Linked DNA regions of Homo sapiens: region 2 is linked to region 1. Evidence: promoter capture Hi-C in 16 types of primary human blood cells and fetal thymus (Javierre and others, 2016). All regions are on one chromosome and are shown on one strand. Each heading gives the region's core, a stretch centred on a gene start or on the middle of the fragment in contact. The rest is flanking DNA. Distances are from core to core; before and after follow the strand shown.

Region 1 (3,053 bases), core at 248-2,747:
TCACGTTGATCTGTACGGTGGCGGAACGTGGAGGCTCGCCACCGTCCAGGGCAGTCAGCACGAGCGTATGGTGATTCTGTTGCTCGCGGTCCAGAGCCTTCTGGATGACCAGTTCTGGGAACTTGGTGCCGTCGCCGCGGGACTTAACGTCCAGTCCAAAGAGGCCGTGATCGTCGCGCGTGAGCAGGTAGGTGCGGAGCCCATTCTCGCCGGCGTCGGGGTCATGTGCGCTGGTGAGGGGGAAGCGGGTGCCCGGAGCAGCGTTCTCCGAGATGTCCATTTCGATCTGGTCCGAGGAGAAGGAGGGCGCGTTGTCGTTGATGTCCTGGATCTCTACCTTGATCATGCAGATCTCCTTGTCGTTGGCGAACACCTCGAGGGACAGCTGGCACTTGGCATTGTGGCGGCACAGGGACTCGCGGTCGATGCGCTGCTTGGTGTAGAGGAGCCCGCTGTCTGCGTCCACGTCCAGCAGGTGCGGTGCGGAGTTCTCCAGCACCCGGTAGCTACCCGACTTGCTGCGCCCTCCGCCGCCGCGCTCTGCAGGCGGAAGCCCAGGCTGCAGTCGAGCATCCCTGCCGATGTTCCCGATCACCGTGCCGGCCCCTTGCTCCTCCGGCACGGAGTAGTTGAGGTTCTTGAGAGTGAGGGCAGGGGCCCATAGAAGAAAGCAGCAACAGATGGAAAGGTACATCCCAGACCTGTAAGGTGGGGGCAGGAGCAATCGGACTGGAGGAGCCAGAGAGGGAGTGCGCGCCAGCCTGGGGCCCTGGCGCAGCGTGCGCGCGCGACGCGAGCCACAAGTCTATGGGTCCTTTTTTCCCTCTGCACCCGAGCTGCGGCACCCGGTGGTCTCTCCTTATTCTGCTCAAGTTCCCTGAACCTGTTGATCTACAGCATCCGCACTGGGTGAGAAGCTGCGGTGCAGCAGAGCTGCAGGGGCTTGGAGCAAGGCGGTGGCTTCCTGCGGCTGGGGGTGAGCCAGGGGTTTCGTCTCTCCCGCCCGGACTTCGGGAGGCTCAAACTTGAGCGATGAGGCAGGCGATAAGAAGGAAATCTCGTCTGGGAGAGATGATAATGAGCTAAAGAATCAGTAGGTTTTCCTCGCTCCCGCTAGGGTGCTGCAAATCTACTCCCGCCCGGAGACTCCGGAATACTCTTCACATCGAGTGGGGGAGGGAGCAGGGAGGTGTGTCTCTAGGCAGATCCGAAAGTGAAATTCTTACTTGCTGCTCGCCTCCCGTGATGAAATTGATGGGGATGAAGAGCAACGAAGACAGAGTCACAGATATATTTTGAAGCTTCCCCAGCGCACCGTGAAATGTCTGCTTGCTGCGCGGGCCGGTCTGTTTTCAGGCAGTGTTTTGCTGCATTTAGAGATCTAATCTTGCATTGCTGGCTGAGGCAGCGGCGGCGGCGGACTGCATCTACCAGCCAAGCGTATTTTTTTTTTCCTCTCTCTCCTTTCCGAGCAGCCAAAGGGAGGGGAGGAAATGCAGCGTAAAGAACTAGTGTCCCGATTTGTAGTTTCCTCTCCCCACCAGGCTCCTCCCTCTCTTCCTCGGAAAAGGCTCTCCCCCGAAATCAAGAAAGCCACAGCCTGATCAGCATTTGCTGTGTGAGTCTATTGGGAGGGGGGAAGTAGAGAGATAAATCTTCGCCTCTGTTCGTAGAACACACTCTCTGATTTCTCTACGCCAAGCCAGTAGCCTCCGCTACCATCCCATCCTCTCCCCGCGAGCAAGGACTTCTCTCCAAGCAGTTTAATTCCAGTTTGCTTTTCTTCCCAGGCGAAGGGAAATCAACAGGCAACTCATGGTTGGACGTGCACATTTAAAGGAGGAGGGGGGAGGCCGAATAAAAAGGAAGGGGGAGCCTCCCTCCCAGTCCTTGCACACACACTCTCCCTGTCTCTCGCTAGAAGGGAAACAGTCTCTGCATTCACAGGGCTGGGCTGTCAAGTGCCTCTTTTCTTTCTATTCAGCATCTCCTTCCAATAGCCCTGCCTCCCAGTCCTCTTCATCTAGAAAAGAAAACCTTGGCGAGGAATAAAAGTGATGAATATTTGAAGCAAATAAAGTACGTGTTTTTTTTTTTCCTTCAATTTTCTCTTATAGTAGGAGGAGTGGGCTGGATGAAAGCAACACATCAAGGTTTGGCGTGATGCATTCTGCAGTCTCTCTTTCAGTTTTTCTGGGCGACTCAGGGAGGGCAGGGGGTGCAGAGCTGCGGCCGCGGCGGTCCAGCCAGGGGCTCCTACCCCGGGGAGCTCCCTCCGAGGGGATGTTAGACACAGGTCTGTCTACACATTATTTCGGGTTCTGGAGGCGCCTCGACATACGGGAATGACACATCCAGAAATGCAGGTGTTCCGATCTGCCGGATGAGTCAGAAGCAGCGGAACGAATCGTATTCACTCTCGCCTCATGGTCCTCCCTTCACAGACATTAGTTGCGGCTTCTTCCTAACGCTTTCTCTGACTCAGTCTATAGAAAGAAAAACCAGATTCATGTTTTTGGGGAAAAAGAAAATGCAAGAGAAAAGGATGGAGGGAAGAAGGTGAAGCTGAATCTAGCAGCACTTTTACTCTACCTCTTTCTGCCGGAGTCCGAGGTTCTGGAAAACAAGGCGTCTGCTTTGCTAGGTGTATTGGTTTATTTATTTTGTTTATTTTTTTTAAACCTTTCCTCTTGGTTAGGCGAGAGGTACCCCGAAATTTTTCAGAGTCTTGGAAAAGGAAAAACAAAATCAGGTTTCCAGTAATTGTTCCCAGCTTAGCCTCGCATCATAGTTCAAGATTTTCCTCTCAATTTTTTCTATTCACAAAGTCCAACATCGATGTGTACAGTTAATTGTGCAGTCTGTTGTGGAGGTTTTTTTTTTTTTTAATTCCTCCTTTTCTGTCACGGGTGGTCTCTTTCAGTCTGGTGTCTGCCGGGATCACCCCACAGTCTGAGAAAGATATGCGGATTTCAAAGCAAATAAATCCATCTCCGCAAGCAAAGCAGCGGATGAAAGGAAAGGTGAAAATTCAATTCAACAGTTGGAGTAGC
Region 2 (3,053 bases), core at 260-2,759, 680 kb before region 1:
GCCAGCTGCCATGTCATGAGGCAGCCCTGTAGGAAGGCCCACATGACAAAAACTGAAGTCACTTGGAGGATCCTGATCTTCAGAAATTGTGAGATATAGTCAATATTTTTGTCATTACATAAAAATGTTTTTAAAACAAATGTTTCTAGCTGCTTAGTTTTAGGAGTAATTTGGCACGCAGCAATCCCTAACTAATATAGTCAACATTTTATTTAGTAGCAGGATGTATGTAAAAATTATAAAATGGGGTTATGAGTACCTTAAAATTAATATACCTTTCCACTGCTTTAGTAGACAGATAATACATACAATGAGAATCACACCTTACTCCGTGCTGAGTTTTGAGTGACACACTGATAAAGGAAAAGGGTGATGTGGACTAAGTGCAACTAAGTGTTACTAGGAAGAGTTTGGGAAGTTTAGCCTTGTGAGGAAAATGTGGTTAGGCACAGTGGAACAATGAACATTGTTCATTGTTTTATATACATGAAATATCAACATATGAAAAAGCAAAAATATTTTTATTGGTCAACATGGAATATATGCCTTAATTTTTGCTCAAAATAAGGATTTTTTATTCCAGCTTACAGAGAATGGGCTGCTTGAGCAGTAATTTTTCTATCGTTAGAGATATTCAAATATATGCTGAGTCTGTGTTATTGAGAAATTTAGAGGATACAATTTTTAAAGACACTTTCAGGGCTGAAATTCTATGAAATAATTATATGCTTGTGGATTATTTTACCTTGGCTATATGGTGGTAATATTTAAGGAGGGTAAAAAAATACATATGCCAAATTTGTCCTCAGACCAACTGAATCAGACTATATGGTGACAGGGCCTGGTCATCAGTCCTTTTTTAAGCTCTCCTTTTGACTCTGAAGTGCAGTCAGTGTAAAATGATATTGATATATTCATTTTTTGGATTTTAACTTATAAAAGTAATATTTTATACAAGTCATCTTGTATATGATAGACTTTCACTATGAAATGTTATTACATATTTAGAAAACAAAAGCTTATCAAAAGTAACTAATTTGACTATTTAAATGCCTAGTATATTTTTGTAGTCATCAAATTCATTAAAAATGGCATTAAAAATGGCATTCATTAAAAAATGTGAAACAATAATTTTCAATAGTTTGTTTGTTAGCTAGTCCGAAAATAAATTTAGGAATTAAGCCAGGATAGCAACAGTAATTAAAAATTACAGCAAATATTTACTGAACAGTTACTGTGTGATCAACACTATACTGAGGATTAACAAACAATTACTTATCTAAGTTGTATAATAGTCATGAATTAGATACTGTTATTATATTCATCATTGTTATATTTAATTCATATCAACTAATGACTAATGACATATATTAATATATCATTAAATTAATTACATTTGTTTTGCCCATATTCATTATATTATATTCATTCATTCAATTACTAAATTAAATTTATATATGCACACATATACACAAAAAACTGTACAGTATTAAAAATGTGTTCAAGGTTGTTCAAAGTGTAATTTTTGGAGCAACTACTTGGACCTAGGCATTCCAGGCCCCAGAATGCTCACTCTTGACCATTATATTAAAGTTATTCATGCGGAACATAGCAATATCATTTAGCATAAAGGTTTCCTGTCTTTTTTTTTTATCCCATCTGCCAAAGACAAATCTGCATTTGTCCGATAACTTCCTCTGAATTTTTACTTTTTGAAAAAGAAGGAGTATTGCTTCCTAAGAGAGCAGCTGCTGTCAATTTGAGGAATAAAAAAGATGTAAGTAAGATAAGAGAGAAAACAAAAGAGGACAGGAGTCCATGTCTGGACAGTGATGACTCCAGGGTAGCCTTGAGGTGTAAACAAATTTTAGGAGAAAGGGAAGAGGTGTTACAAAATGTTTCAGGTTATAAATGGGGCCTCTATGATGGAAAGGGTTCAAATATGCTGTGCATCTGAATGATTTTATACTCCTCTCTCTTTCTCTTGACTATAAGCTTCTTGGCAATGTCTTTTTCATCTTTGCTTCTGCCAAAGACTCAGAGAATGCATATAACTTTCGTGACAGCTCAGGTTGTCAATATATTTAGAACAATATAGTGACCACTGTATCACTGATTCATTAAAAGGATTTGAGGCTATCACCTATGCATAATGGGCAGTAAAAGTAAAGAAAATCATATGCAGTTAAGCTAGAAGAAATACAGAATGAAATATTTTCTTTTAGCATATCATTATCATATTAATGCTATTTTCAATAGCAGTTAAGTCCCCAATTCCAAAGTGTGAAAATTCAATTTTTAATGCATTGCACTTGAGTATAAAACTAATTTTTAGTTTTGGCCTTTTCTTATATGAATTAAAAGAAGTAAAAAAACCTCTAAACCCAATTTTAAAAATTAAGATTGAGGTCATTTTAAAAAGTAGTTCATTATTCATTAACTTGTGAACACAGCACTGGTATTGTTATATGATTACGGTACACTTATATAGCATTTTTTATTAGCAGACTAAATTAACATGTATTTTACAAGTATTTATTAGCTATTCTGATAATTGGATGAGTCATTTTAAGTTGCAAAGAATAAACCAAAGCCATTATTGCTATTGTTTCATTGGATGGTAGTGCTATTATTACTATCATGAATAATAATGATTCATAGAGCATTGCACATGTTTCCATCTCAAAATGAGAGCTTTTAACCGTGTGTGATCATCAAGATATAGTCTATGCCTCTTTGTAAACAGCTTTAGAAATAGCTGTGTCTGAAAGATTCATTTGTGGTTTATGTGATTGGCAGAACTCTTGAAATACAAGCCGTATTACTTGTAGGGCATTTTTGACAGGCTGCCACGACCTGAATACACTGAATCTGATGGTCAATTCCAATTCTACTTAGGTTGTATAGATATGGATGTAAAGGGATGTTAGGTCACTGTGGCTGGCATGAAGCATAAAAAAGCAGAGTCCTCAAGGAGTTATTCTCAATTGAAAGTGGGATACAATAATAAGAAAACAATTCTAGACAAAATGAATAGAAACAGCAAGAGAAAC

What was found. The method cuts DNA at HindIII sites, captures the fragments that hold promoters and counts their contacts. A CHiCAGO score of 5 or more calls a contact.
Region 2: a fragment that was not itself captured here is called in contact with the fragment with the promoter of PCDH17 in region 1 in 1 of 17 cell types (M2 macrophages); the score reaches 6.0 in M2 macrophages.

The regions. Positions count from the first base shown.
Region 1 is chr13:57,630,188-57,633,240 of GRCh38, reverse strand. It overlaps PCDH17 (protocadherin 17), which reads right to left and starts at 1,497. Exons shown (of 4, transcript NM_001040429.3): 1 at 1-1,497. The coding sequence starts at 694. RefSeq lists enhancers at 311-990, 2,949-3,053. The HindIII fragment of the contact is 2,681 bases long and covers 1,304-3,053 here.
Region 2 is chr13:58,310,350-58,313,402 of GRCh38, reverse strand. No RefSeq gene overlaps it. Among named protein-coding and RNA genes, the nearest start is that of LINC00374, 79 kb to the right of the region's middle. The HindIII fragment of the contact is 977 bases long and covers 1,021-1,997 here.